Regions from separate parts of the Homo sapiens genome. Here all the other regions are linked to region 2. The links are contacts of gene promoters, found by promoter capture Hi-C in blood cells and fetal thymus (Javierre and others, 2016). All regions are on one chromosome and are shown on one strand. Each heading gives the region's core, a stretch centred on a gene start or on the middle of the fragment in contact. The rest is flanking DNA. Distances are from core to core; before and after follow the strand shown.

Region 1 (4,428 bases), core at 1,371-3,870, 280 kb after region 2:
GAATTACATTACATATTTTATTCAGGGATGAGTTCACCCCCACACTTAAAAAGACAGGAACTCATTAGTGAAAAAGGAACTGATGCAGTTGGCACTGCTGGTTAATAGCAGCTGCCCCTGTGTGTGTACCCCAGAGAACAGCCTGAGACCCAGCAGAGGATGGGCAGGGGAACCTGACTCCATAAGAGGGAGAGCAGTCTTCTGGGCTCCTGCCAAGAACTCAGAGGTTGGATCCTCTCTCCAACCACCTTTCCTTCCAATCACTCAGACAACATGCTGCCTCCCCCACTGGGCGGAGCTCTGTCTGCCCCATGCTGCTGCTCAGCAGAGTGGCTGCAAGCTTGCAAATTGCTCTTCTGATCCTGTTGCTCTTCTGCCTTCTGCGGCTCTGTGTGGCATCTGGGAGCAGGGCAAACCTCTATACATGGCTTCCTAAGTCCTTACTAATGTGGCACAAGCCTGCAATGTTGGTTTCATTTCTCTTACCGGTCTCTGAACCACCCTCCTCCCCCACACACATACCCTGCACTTGTGTCCCTGTTCTTGACGCTTCTTGTGGGCCTCTACATACAAAATGTCTTCATACTTTCCTATGATAATATTAGCTTACCTTCGGTGAGAAATTATATGCCAGATGCCTTGCTAAGACCTTCAATTAATTATCTCACTGAAGCCTCACAATAGCACTTTGAGGCCGGTGCTATGTTCACTCCCAGTTTACAGGTGTAAAAACAAGGCACAAAGGGTTTAAGAAAGTGCAGAGGGACACCCAGGTGCTTGGTCATGAACCTGAGCCCTCTGTCTCCAAAGTCCATGCTCTTAACCAGGGGTTGGCAAATGTTTTCTTTAAAGGGACAAATAGTGACTATTTTAGGCTTTGCAGGGCATACAATCTCTGTTGTAACTACTCAGCTCTGTCTTTGTAGTGTGAAAGCAGCCGTGGACATTGGACATTGACACAGACATAGGACACTGGGTAAATGCATATAGCTCCCACCTGAATTGCCAACCCTTCTTACCCATCCTAGCATCATTCATGCCAAGCCTAAAGCCTCTATCCCAAGAGAGTAGAGTGGGTCGGAGCACATACCAGAAGGAACACTTCTTTCCCAGAACTGGGTGGAAGCACATTCTTGGTCAACCATTGTGCAACCAGGGTGGAGGGAGGGGAGCTGCTTCCGTTGTCTTGAGAAGGTATCTCGTTCTTGCCAGACGCTGAGTTAGCACCTCCTTTAGACAGGGAACACCCTGTTCTCCTGGATGCTGTGTCCCCCCCTCCAAATGTTGGAGAAATGGGACTGCTTTTAAAATAGTAACAAGAGCTTTCCTGAGGCTCTTCTTAGCATGGGAGTTTGTTCTTCCTCCTGCGGTTGCTCATTTATCCATAGGTTCTCACAGAACAATATTGCCCAGGATTGCTCTCCATTCTCCTCATGCACAGTGCTTAATGCATGGACTGGAGAAGTGAAGCTCATTCCTCTGTAAACCAAGCACACTCACCTTTGTCAGCCTGCCCACCCTCCCAGAAGGTGTATATGGATTTGAGATTTCAAGCACTGAGATCAGAAATTAAAATGTGGAATTGACATGTTACATCATCACACTTGTAAGGGCACAATTTTATGATTCACAGCTTCCATATGCCCCTTGACTTTCCCTACACACCCAATTAAACTGTCTGACTCTTGATTCTTAAGAAATGTCAAAATCTGTGGGAATAAAAATCCAGTGAATTCCTTAATGATTTTTATATCACTCATTTTCCGTTGTTTAAATTAAGCTCTATGTAAATGCTCCAAAACAGCAGGGAGAAGGTGTCTATAAATTTCAACTGGAAAGGCAGATTTACATGAGACTAAGCTCAATAGGAAAGCAAGCACTGGAGAGAGAGGTGCAGATATGGAAAGAAACTCCTGGCAGAAGTCAGGTCTCTGAGCACCCTGGGCAATGTCTGCTCCCTTCATTTTAGGTAAACGGCATGTGGGCAGGTGATCACACAGTACACAGAACAAATGTTGCTCCTACAGTGTAAAGACTCAACTCCTCTGTCCCTCTTGCCTGACAAAGGAGGGTTAGATCCCCAAAGCAGACCCCGTTCCTATGTCCAGGACACAAGGGAGGACAGCCAGGAGCTCCAGAAGAACTGGTCCAAATGCAGTGGAAAAAACACAACAGGCTACTTCTTGCTCAGGCCATCGGGCAAATGCCCATACGCCCTCAGGAAGGATCCCACTCAGAGGGTGAGGCTGGTGCAAGTGGAGTAGAAAACCTGTGTGGGAAGGGGGCACACAGGGAGTGTCTGATGAAGAAGAAGGAGGGGACAATTATCACAGATCAGCTCCTTGTCTCCTTTGTTTGAGGACATGACTAACTCATGACTTCAGTGAATGTATACCCGGGCTTATTGTGTTAGGATCAAGTCAAGGCTGGAAGGCAGGAGAATTTCTCTATGACTAAAGGAAGCCAAAAAGCAATCTTCATATTTCATACCTTTCTAGAAACTGGGTGTGATCTCACTGTTGGTAAAGCCCAGCCCTTCCCAACCTGCAAGCTCACCTTCCAGGACTGGGCCCAGCCCATGCTCTCCATATATAAGCTGCTGCCCCGAGCCTGATTCCTAGTCCTGCTTCTCTTCCCTCTCTCCTCCAGCCTCTCACACTCTCCTCAGCTCTCTCATCTCCTGGAACCATGGCCAGCACATCCACCACCATCAGGAGCCACAGCAGCAGCCGCCGGGGTTTCAGTGCCAACTCAGCCAGGCTCCCTGGGGTCAGCCGCTCTGGCTTCAGCAGCGTCTCCGTGTCCCGCTCCAGGGGCAGTGGTGGCCTGGGTGGTGCATGTGGAGGAGCTGGCTTTGGCAGCCGCAGTCTGTATGGCCTGGGGGGCTCCAAGAGGATCTCCATTGGAGGGGGCAGCTGTGCCATCAGTGGCGGCTATGGCAGCAGAGCCGGAGGCAGCTATGGCTTTGGTGGCGCCGGGAGTGGATTTGGTTTCGGTGGTGGAGCCGGCATTGGCTTTGGTCTGGGTGGTGGAGCCGGCCTTGCTGGTGGCTTTGGGGGCCCTGGCTTCCCTGTGTGCCCCCCTGGAGGCATCCAAGAGGTCACCGTCAACCAGAGTCTCCTGACTCCCCTCAACCTGCAAATCGATCCCACCATCCAGCGGGTGCGGGCTGAGGAGCGTGAACAGATCAAGACCCTCAACAACAAGTTTGCCTCCTTCATCGACAAGGTGAGCCAGTGCCATGCCCTCCATGGGGCACTTCAGGGTCCCCAGACCAGAGGAGCAACACCTTCCTGCCAGGGAGACCTAGGAGGGAGGGAGAAGAGGACTCAGCCCAGCTCTGCAGAGAGTGCAGATGGCTGCTGGTGCCCAGCAAGCAGCAGGGATGGGCATCACTCCCCCATGGGATCTCTGGAGTGGCCCTCACTCCTGCCTAGGGAGAACCATAACTTTTCATAACCCTGAAGCACAGATGAGGCCATCAGAGAATGGAGTAGGTTAACTCTTCCCTTTGAAGCGTCAAAGAAAATGCCAGGAGTACACGGGCTGGTAAATTACACTCTGGGGTCTGGATAAGAGGAAAAAATATTGGAAACAAAAGAAAGGATATTTTGGCTAGATTAAGAAAAAAAAGACTTAAAACGTTTATACGTTATGTGGAAATGTTAATTAATCCTCAAAACAAAGAATGACCATAACATCAGGATGTTTTAGAGGAGAGACTTGCACAAATGGGAAATAAGACGGGAATCAAATCATTGGGCAACATTTAACATCTCTTCTAACTGAGGTCCTATCAGTAATAAAAACTGTGTAAAATTTATCAGATGAATACTATTTTATAACTATGTTTGTAATTTTGGCTGGGAAAAGAAGGAAAAGACATGTTGAAACTCATTAATATGTCCAATAACTTAGAGAGTGAGAACACCTGAATGGTCCGTGGGACAATTCCTCTAGTGAGATTGGTGGGGTACAAAGGAGAAGGGGTTGGGGGAGCAGAGCTCAGCCTGAGCCTCTCTACATGCACTGTAGTAGCCCAGCACCATGGGAACCTCCCGGACCTGCCAGGAAACCGGATACCAGACACTTTTTCTTCCTTCCCTTGCCTGGAAAATGATCATCTTGTCTCTCTTTCAGGTGCGGTTCCTGGAGCAGCAGAACAAGGTTCTGGAAACAAAGTGGACCCTGCTGCAGGAGCAGGGCACCAAGACTGTGAGGCAGAACCTGGAGCCGTTGTTCGAGCAGTACATCAACAACCTCAGGAGGCAGCTGGACAGCATTGTCGGGGAACGGGGCCGCCTGGACTCAGAGCTCAGAGGCATGCAGGACCTGGTGGAGGACTTCAAGAACAAGTGAGTTAAACAGGAGAAATGGACTCAGTTTCCTGCAGCACACACTTCAAGACTATTGGGTGACCAGGGCCAG
Region 2 (5,095 bases), core at 1,927-4,426:
AATTTGGTTAGAGGGAATAACTCCTTGGTTTTAGTGCCCCCAATTTTATAGGTGGGGAAATAAAAATCCAGGGTGCTCAGCCATCTGGCAAGCTTTACACAGAATGTTCTGGCAGTGAGGGATTGGAACTCAGATTGCTGGCAGTAGGCAGACCCTTTAGATACTGTTCTGAAAGATCCTACAGTGAATGAGGGCAATGTTGGTGAGGATAGCAACTCTGGGTATTTCCAGCAGCTCCATTCAACTGCTGAGAAGACAATCCCCATCTGCTAAATAAGGTGATGCTTTGGCAGGCTCATGCGACATGGATTAGGCGACCCAGCCCAAACCCGCGCTTTTGTGATCTGTGCATCACCTTTCTCCACCACGCTTCTCCAGCCTAGGCCAGGGTGGCAGAGGTGAGCCACACATCAGAGGCTGCCACCCACCACCTCAGTACTGCAGCCAAGGGAGGGAAGGGAATCAGAGACATTTATGTCTGTTCTTGTTTGCTTCGGACTCTCACCTGGAGCTTCAGCTGAGCCTGGCTCAGCTTTCTTTCCAGGAAGAGCATGTGATCTTCTGCTTTTAAAGGATCCAGAGGATATGAGGAAAGACCTTACCAGGAGGGGCTGTCATTCAATTGATGGGTGGAGTATAAATGTCTCATGGAAGAACTCAACATGAAATCCTCTTCCTGGATTATCTGTGGATGAATGATGTTAATTTAAAAATCCAAACATATATTGCTGAATACTATGTATTTAAATTTCAAAACAATCCTGCAAGTAGGATCAATGCCACCTTTTAAAAATAAGGAGAGAGAGAAGTCAAGTACCTTGTCCAAGGTCACCACATAGTGAGAGGTAGACATAGGATTTGAACCCAGGTCTTTGGAATTCCATGATGATGACAGGTTTTCTGTTATACCACAGCTATCTTACTCCTGTGTGGAATTTTGTGATTTTCAAAGGACTTTCACTTACATTATCCTGCAAGTCTCACCACAAACCAGTAAGGTAGGAAAGTGTTTGGCAGATTAGAACACAGACTTACGTTAAATCGTGGCACAAGGTCACCCAACCCAACCCTAGTCAGTATAAGTCTCAGTCTTTTCTATCCCAAGTTGGGTTTCTAATTCTTCACTCCTATTCAGCCTCCTTTCCTCACCTTTGGTGAGCTTCTTAGGGATGCAAAGTTGTCTTGAGAACAGCCAGGGCCAAACATGTTATTGCTTCTCCATTCCCCCAAATAGAGTACTGGCAAGTAGCTAAACATATAGTGCTTGCTATGTGTCAAGCACTGGGCTAAGCATTTTATATTTACTTAACTTGTTTAATGCTCACAACAACCCCATAAAGTACTTGCCATTCTTAGCCCCATTTTACAATTGATAAAGCAGACACATAAAAGTTAAGTAACTTGTCCAAGGCCTAAAAGTTGGTGGATAGTGGATCTGGGATCTGACGCCAGATAAGCTGCAGAGCAGAGAGCTGAGAATTAGCTGCAAAGCTCTTGAAGTCACTCAACTCAAGGTGGTTCCAAGGTTCTCAGACCAATTCTCTCCCCTAGACTGGACTGTTCAGAAACCAGAAACTCAGAAAGACAGAGCGCCCACTGCCAGTTTGGCTGGAATTCTGGAGATAGACCCCCCACCAATTTCTCAGGGAGTCTAGAATCAGTGCCACCTGCTCCTGTCATATGTGTGAAATCTCCTATGCAGACGACAACCTGAGGATTTGGTCTTGCCCTGTGTGGTGTGTTTGGGTGCGGAGGTGGGTTGGATGGGGTTTGGGGTCTGCTGAGCTCTTGGCAGTGACAGCAGTAACTCATCATGTGTCATTCGTTCTGCCATCAGGGGTCCTCCATCCTCCTATTCCTGGCCCATATGGTGTAGCCATGGTCTAGACCAGGGTTTCCCAGACTTTCCGCATTATAAGAATGACCTGGAGGGCTTGTTAAAAATGCAAACTCTCAACCCTTTCCTCTGAAGATTTTCATTCATAGGGCTGGGGTGGGAGCTGGTTTTAGGTATTTGCATTCTTAGACATCAGTCATCAGTCAGTTAACACGTTTGTGCTGTGCTTACCCTATGCTAGGAGCTGGACATTTAGGATAATTTAGAATGGGCAGGACTCAAGCCTTGCCCTCAAGAAGCTCAGGGACCGGAGGGGTATGGACAAGTAAGCAGGTAAGTATACTTTATGTCAGGTTCACGATGGGAAAAGTACAGGGTATGGTGGGAAGACAAGGAGGGGCATCTGACCCAGACCAGGGGGTAAAGCAGGGAGGGGATCCCCTCCAGAAGATCTGAGTTGGGGCCTAGACACAAGATACACTGTCCTCCTAAGATGAATGGGGTGCTTGAGCCGACTCTACCAGCCAGCTGGAGGGTTACCAGATTCTGTCTCCTCTTGCTTCTGGGTCCAGAAATTGCCTGCTGTCAGTCTAGGATGGTGGGGGGAGGGCTTGGTCTGAGGCTCTCCACAGTGCATGCCCCCTCTTCTTCCCAAACCTCATACTTGTTTGCTCCCTGTTCCAGGAGCTAGACGTGTTTACCTCCACTGTAATTTCTTCCCCATAAGTAGCATTTCTCAGCCCAAACTCCAGGTTTGCTGAGATGGATGCCTTTGGCTGAGGTGCTGGCAGAGCAGACTCTATGGGTCTGGGCCCCTCTCACTTCCGCTCCCACTCCAGGCCCTCTGAAGAGTTGGGAACAGGTGACATGCCACTGGAAGAAAAGGCCTAATGATGGCAGAGACGGGCGCAGCCACTGTGGGAGCCTGTGGACACTGTGGTGCTGCAGGGAGGGACCCAGCCCACTCAGAAGAGGTTGCCTGGTCCTCACCCCCCTGTGTCAGGGAGCTCATGGCTCCGGATCACCTGGTGTCTAAAGCTGCTTCCTCCTGCTGGATCAGGTGCTGCTTGGGTTCCCTGAAACCCTTGAGGACAGCACAAAAAGGGAGGGAGGAGAGCTCCAGCATTTTGTCAACTGAGGCAAGTTTAGGTGATTAAGCTAAGAAAGCAAAGCCACTCTGGCCCAGAGGATTATCTCTGAGGTGTGTTGGGAACCAAGAAGTAACTTAATGCCTACGAGGCAAACCAAACCCAAGATGATTCTCAACTAATTGCTCGCCTCTCCTTTTGCCAAGCCAAACTCCCTGTTATATAAAGGCCAGTCTCCTCTCTTGTCCCTATCCCTCTCAGCTCTTGCTAAGTGATCACTAGCTTGCCTCCAAGCTCTCTCACTATGAACAGACAAGTTTGCAAGAAATCCTTCAGTGGCAGGAGCCAGGGTTTCTCTGGCCGCTCTGCTGTGGTCTCCGGCAGCAGCAGGATGAGCTGTGTGGCCCGCTCTGGGGGAGCTGGTGGAGGGGCCTGTGGCTTCAGGAGCGGAGCAGGCAGCTTTGGCAGTCGCAGCCTCTACAACCTGGGCAGCAACAAGAGCATCTCCATCAGCGTGGCAGCTGGCAGCTCCCGGGCTGGAGGCTTTGGGGGAGGGCGGAGCAGCTGTGGCTTTGCAGGTGGCTATGGAGGTGGCTTTGGGGGCAGCTATGGTGGTGGCTTTGGTGGTGGCAGAGGAGTAGGTAGTGGTTTTGGAGGGGCTGGTGGCTTTGGTGGAGCTGGTGGCTTTGGTGGTCCTGGTGTATTTGGTGGGCCTGGCAGCTTTGGTGGTCCTGGTGGCTTTGGCCCTGGGGGCTTTCCTGGGGGAATTCAGGAAGTGATTGTAAACCAGAGTCTCCTGCAGCCCCTCAATGTGGAGATCGACCCCCAGATTGGGCAAGTAAAGGCCCAGGAGCGGGAACAGATCAAGACCCTCAACAACAAGTTTGCCTCCTTCATCGACAAGGTGAGGGCAAGGCCAAGAGGTGCTGTGGAGGGTTTGGGGTGCCCAGGGGTCGGTGTAGAAAGATGCCATGGGGACTTGTGAGACACAGGGCAGGGGCGCTTGGCTCTTGTCCTGGTGCTGTCTTGGTCCCTACAGGACAGTGATCATGCCCCTTTCACTTTTTGGGCCTTCTTTTTCCAGCTGTGAAATGGGGGGAAGAATTCCTGGTCCTGGTTTCCTGCTAAGAATGAGATGAGGGTAAATGAAGTGGGGGTCCAAACATGCTCTTAGCTTTTTGAAGAATGAGCCATTTTAGTCATGAAATTATTGCAGTTACTTTAATTTCTCCTGAAAAGCAATTGCTTGATAATCCAAAGTAGCTGGTAATCAAAACCTTGTGTTAGCACAGATCTTGAGGCTGCATCTAAATGAGGTGCATTGGCAGCTGCCTTACCTTCCAGATGATGCTGTGCTTCAGCCAATAATTAAACTGAGCTGTCCATGCTGGGGCAGAGGAGGGTGTTCTGGGTCTGTGTGGGACTGAGCCCAGGATCTGAAGTGAATTCTAGTTCAGCTGCAAGCTGAATAACTGAAAGGAGGTCTTCCTATGTGAAACTTCTAAAGAAATGTTAGACCTCATTGACTGTATTCACTGCCTTTATGGAGCTGAAAAAAGCTTACATCTAAAAAACAATGACAAACTTTATTTGTGCTTACCTCCTTCAGTGGTATTCTGAAGGATCCCTATAGACCCAGGACAGTCCTGGGTTTGATTCTTAGCTTTGTCACTCAGTAGACTTGTCACTTTGGGAAACTTAAACTCTTTGAGTCTCAGTTTCCTTATCTACAAAATGGGGATCACAGCAACTCCTTTATAGGTGGTTGTGAGGATTAAATGTGACGGAAATACATGAAAATAACAGGTAAGGCATAATCACTCAACAAATTCTAGCTCTCCCTTTGCTAAATCTTCATCCTTCCCAAATTAAAAAACAGGGGAAATTGTAGATTGAAGAACTGGGTTCCTTCTCCACAGTTCTACATTTGGGATGGGCAGCCCCACATGCCCAACTCAAGGGGCTGACTCCTTTTCTCCCCTCTTTCATGCAGGTGCGGTTCCTGGAACAGCAGAACAAGGTCCTGGAGACCAAGTGGGAACTGCTCCAGCAGCAGACCACAGGCTCAGGGCCCAGCAGCCTGGAGCCTTGTTTTGAATCCTACATCAGCTTCCTATGCAAGCAGCTAGATTCACTTCTAGGGGAGAGGGGGAACCTGGAGGGAGAGCTG
Region 3 (4,917 bases), core at 456-2,955, 330 kb after region 2:
AAAAAAAAAGAAAAGAAAAAAGAAATGAAGCCCAAATTGAAAGCGGCATAAGGAGGAAAGACATTGGTAAACAGACAGTAATGGACATTTGGGAGAAATGTCCTCGAATAACTGGGAAAAGCAAACAGCTATGAAAAAGAGACTAGAGACTGTTAAAAAGAGAATCAGAAAACATAGATGTGGGAGACAAAGCAGACACAACACAATCACAATTGAAAAAGACAATATTTTTATGTTTTGTACATATGAATACATGAAATATTTTATATACATAAAACACACTCAAACACATACACACAAAACATTCATGTATTTATTTATATACCTTTCTACAATGCAGGCTCCCTCTCTATATATGCCAACTCCCTCCACCTCTTCCTCACCCATACAAACACACGTTGACACAAACACATATGCACAGACATGTCACCCATGGCCCAGGAAAAGCACAGGAAAATATCCAAGTAAAGATACAAGGATACACAAGGAACTGCTAACATTACTTCCTCCATAGATAGGAATTGGGTAACTGGGGAATGGCCTTGAGCTATATTATTTTGTTGTTTAGCATGTTTTACAAAAAATTTTTTAAAACATGTATCATGTATTCAATTTGTAAACATGTAAATAATTGTGCAAATAGTACTATTCAAAATTTAAATGGGCAATCTACTACATTTACTTCTAGAATGTTTAAATATAGACAGAATCTTAATAAGCTTCTAATTTTAATATGAAATATGAAGGTTAGAGTCTCATATTAAAGGAAACAATAGGGGTATGCAATTAGAAAAATCCCAAGAATGAAAAAGTACAATGAACAGTTAACCTGTTTTATTTAACAAATAAAAGTAAGAAATGAAGGGAGATTTTTAAATTTCAATGATTTAAAGGATATATCACTCAAATACAACGTTTATAGAGCTTATTTTGACTCTGATTGGGACACCAAAATATAAGAAATATATATCAAAAATAGGACTGCTTGAAGACTAAATAGACACTTGTTCATTTTAATTAGTATGTAAATTTTTAAGATATAAAAATAGTGTTTTGATTTTTTAAAGGACCTATTATTTAGATATTAATATTGAATTATTGATTGAAGACATAATATGACTTCTGGAATTTCCTTTCAAACAATCTAGAATGGAAGAGGAAATAGGGTTGAAGTATGAAAGAAATCAGGCTGGCCATGAGATGATCATCATGGAAGCAGGTGACAGGTATATACAGGCCCATTGCAGTGTTCTGCTTCTCTACCTGTTTAAAATTGCACCTAAAAGGTGAAACAATTATGGGGAAATTGTAATATTTCTGTTAAGGAATTCACAATACAGTGCCTGTGATCTCCAACAGCAAGGCTGGAAGAAAGTCAGACTGGGAAGAGGAGGGCACTCAGGGCATGTCGATAAACAGCCTAGCATGCAGAACCTTTGCTGAAGACAGTGACTAATTCCAACTTCATGAATTGAGAATACTCTTATTGTGCTGAGATCTCAAGTCAAAGCTGGAGGCAGGAACATTTTGCCTGACTAAAGGAAGCGAAAAATGCAATCTCGGTATTTCATAACTTTTGTAATAATGCAGGTGTGATCTCACTATTTGTAAAGCCCAGCCCTTCCCAACCTGCAAGCTCACCTTCCAGGACTGGGCCCAGCCCATGCTCTCCATATATAAGCTGCTACTGGAGTCCGATTCCTCGTCCTGCTTCTCCTCCCTCTCGCCTCCAGCCTCTCACACTCTCCTAAGCCCTCTCATCTCCTGGAACCATGGCCAGCACATCCACCACCATCAGGAGCCACAGCAGCAGCCGCCGGGGTTTCAGTGCCAACTCAGCCAGGCTCCCTGGGGTCAGCCGCTCTGGCTTCAGCAGCATCTCCGTGTCCCGCTCCAGGGGCAGTGGTGGCCTGGGTGGCGCATGTGGAGGAGCTGGCTTTGGCAGCCGCAGTCTGTATGGCCTGGGGGGCTCCAAGAGGATCTCCATTGGAGGGGGCAGCTGTGCCATCAGTGGCGGCTATGGCAGCAGAGCCGGAGGCAGCTATGGCTTTGGTGGCGCCGGGAGTGGATTTGGTTTCGGTGGTGGAGCCGGCATTGGCTTTGGTCTGGGTGGTGGAGCCGGCCTTGCTGGTGGCTTTGGGGGCCCTGGCTTCCCTGTGTGCCCCCCTGGAGGCATCCAAGAGGTCACTGTCAACCAGAGTCTCCTGACTCCCCTCAACCTGCAAATTGACCCCGCCATCCAGCGGGTGCGGGCCGAGGAGCGTGAGCAGATCAAGACCCTCAACAACAAGTTTGCCTCCTTCATCGACAAGGTGAGCCAGTGCCATGCCCTCCATCGGGCACTTCAGGGTCCCCAGACCAGAAGAGCAACACCTTCCTGCCGGAGAGACCCTAGGAGGGAGGGAGAAGGGGACTCAGCCCAGCTCTGCAGAGAGTGCAGGTGGCTCTCGGTGCACAGGAGGCAGCACAGATGGGCATCACTCCCCCATGGGATATCTGGAGTGGCCCTCACTCCTGCCTAGGGAGAGCCATAACTTTTCATAACCCTGAAGCACAGATGAGGCCATCAGAGAGTGGAGTAGGTTAATTCTCCCCTCTGAAGTGTTTAAGAGATTACAAAGCAAATGCCAGGAGTATATGGGCTGGTAAATTACACTCTGGGGTCTGGGTAAGAGGAAAAAGATTTAGAAAGAAAAGGAAAAGATAATCTGGCTGGATTAAGAAAAAAAGGGACATAGAAACAACTGTAAAACATGGATAAATGCTAATTAATTTTAAAAACAGAGAATGACCATAACATCAGAATATTTGAGAGGAGACACTAAATGGGAAAGTAGACTGAAATGTAATCATGAGTCAACATCTAATATCCCTCCTAACTAAGATCCTCTCGGTAAAAAAAACTGTGTACAATATATCAGGTAATTAGTATTTTTAAACTAGATTTGTGATTGTGCTTGGAAAAAGAAAAGAAGAAATGTTGAAACTCACTGATGATCAATAGCTTACAGTGCGAGAACACCTCAGTGGTCCGTGGGACAATTTCTCTAGTGAGACTGGTGGGGTGCAAAGGAGAAGGAGTTGGGGGAGCAGAGCTCAGCCTGAGCCTCTCTACATGCACTGTAGTAGCCCAGCACCATGGGGACCTCCCAGACCTCCAGGAAACTGGATACCAGACACTTTCTCTGCCTTCCTTTTCCTGGAAAATGACCATTTTGCTTCCCCTCCAGGTGCGGTTCCTAGAGCAGCAGAACAAGGTTCTGGACACCAAGTGGACCCTGCTGCAGGAGCAGGGCACCAAGACTGTGAGGCAGAACCTGGAGCCGTTGTTCGAGCAGTACATCAACAACCTCAGGAGGCAGCTGGACAACATCGTGGGGGAACGGGGTCGTCTGGACTCGGAGCTGAGAAACATGCAGGACCTGGTGGAGGACCTCAAGAACAAGTGAGGACTCCATTTCCTGCAGCACACACTTCAAGACTATTGGGTGACCAGGGCCAGATGTGTGTAGGATTCCTAACAACCCATGTCCATGGAAATGAAAAGCACAAATTAGTCCCTAGGAGCAAACCTGCAAGAACCACAGATGGTTATGGGAGGATGGGGAGATTAAAGAAATGGCAAATTTAGTAGTAGCAAAATTCATCTCTTTGGCTCTCTGTGGCAGGAAAGCTCAATTAGAATATATTCCATTCAGGAAAATGTTGAATCCCAAGCTGCTTTTCTGTTTCATCCTACCCACTGGCTCAAATGTGTCCCATGCCTTTCTTCCTGTAGATATGAGGATGAAATCAACAAGCGCACAGCAGCAGAGAATGAATTTGTGACTCTGAAGAAGGTGAGCAGATGAAGCCAGGGGTTCAAATTCATTTAGAAGGAGAGAAGTGGCTCTGTGTCCTCGCTCCCCTGGGAGAGGAGAATTGGCAGGAGGACTAGAAGATGGGTAGATTGGAAAGGTGAGCTCAGGCAACTCCAGGTTGTTGGCTCTTTCCCCAGGATGTGGATGCTGCCTACATGAACAAGGTTGAACTGCAAGCCAAGGCAGACACTCTTACAGATGAGATCAACTTCCTGAGAGCCTTGTATGATGCAGTAAGCAACTCCACCATCCTTCTGTTTACTCTGATGGGGTCTGCAAAGGGGAGAAGATGTACAGGGCTGGGCATCTCTGTAAATGTCAGAAGTGAAGTTGATCTTATGACCTTCTGTTCTGCAGGAGCTGTCCCAGATGCAGACCCACATCTCAGACACATCCGTGGTGCTATCCATGGACAACAACCGCAACCTGGACCTGGACAGCATCATCGCTGAGGTCAAGGCCCAATATGAGGAGATTGCTCAGAGGAGCAGGGCTGAGGCTGAGTCCTGGTACCAGACAAAGGTGAGCACGGAGTGGACAGCCGCTGAGGAATCCTTGTGTCCATCCCTGAATACCAGAGGACTGCAGACTTCACTGGGGACATCCCCTGACAGGAAGCTGGGGTCCTCTCACAGGACATGCACTCTGCACTATTAGAGTAGACATTTGCGGAACTTATGCCCAAGTCAAGGAGGAAAAACAACCCAATGCAGGAGGCAAGCTACGATAGACAAGGACATAGTCATCTGTGCTTTTAGCTTCACCTTGGTTGCTGACTTTTAGAAATTGGTACAGAACATTTCTACTCCCTAAGAAAACTAGGCAGGCAGTGGTGCCATAATAAGGATGGTCTGTGACTCCAGTGTTTAGTATCCACCCACCACATAACATCAACTTTTCCTCAAGTTTCTTGGGGAGAAGCCATTAGGTCCACTTCATGACATTCATGATACACAAGTGAAAGTCATCGCTCCCAGGTAAGAACCCGTAGACACTGTCTCTCTCTCCACCTCTGGGCTGCAGTACGAGGAGCTGCAGATCACAGCAGGCAGACATG

The links. The method cuts DNA at HindIII sites, captures the fragments that hold promoters and counts their contacts. A CHiCAGO score of 5 or more calls a contact.
Region 1: the fragment with the promoter of KRT6A here is called in contact with the fragment with the promoter of KRT76 in region 2 in 2 of 17 cell types (total CD4 T cells and neutrophils); the score reaches 6.1 in total CD4 T cells.
Region 3: a contact is called between the fragment with the promoter of KRT6B here and the fragment with the promoter of KRT76 in region 2, in 5 of 17 cell types (total CD8 T cells, megakaryocytes, endothelial precursors and 2 more). The highest score is 8.3, in total CD8 T cells.

What each region holds. Positions count from the first base shown.
Region 1 is chr12:52,491,449-52,495,876 of GRCh38, reverse strand. It overlaps KRT6A (keratin 6A), which reads left to right and starts at 2,620. Exons shown (of 9, transcript NM_005554.4): 1 at 2,620-3,228; 2 at 4,141-4,355. The coding sequence starts at 2,689. The HindIII fragment of the contact is 6,361 bases long and covers 343-4,428 here.
Region 2 is chr12:52,775,426-52,780,520 of GRCh38, reverse strand. KRT76 (keratin 76) reads left to right here and starts at 3,176. Exons shown (of 9, transcript NM_015848.4): 1 at 3,176-3,829; 2 at 4,919-5,095. The coding sequence starts at 3,230. The HindIII fragment of the contact is 4,392 bases long and covers 95-4,486 here.
Region 3 is chr12:52,448,934-52,453,850 of GRCh38, reverse strand. It overlaps KRT6B (keratin 6B), which reads left to right and starts at 1,705. Exons shown (of 9, transcript NM_005555.4): 1 at 1,705-2,312; 2 at 3,231-3,445; 3 at 3,779-3,839; 4 at 3,998-4,093; 5 at 4,218-4,382; 6 at 4,884-4,917. The coding sequence starts at 1,773. The HindIII fragment of the contact is 8,192 bases long and covers 722-4,917 here.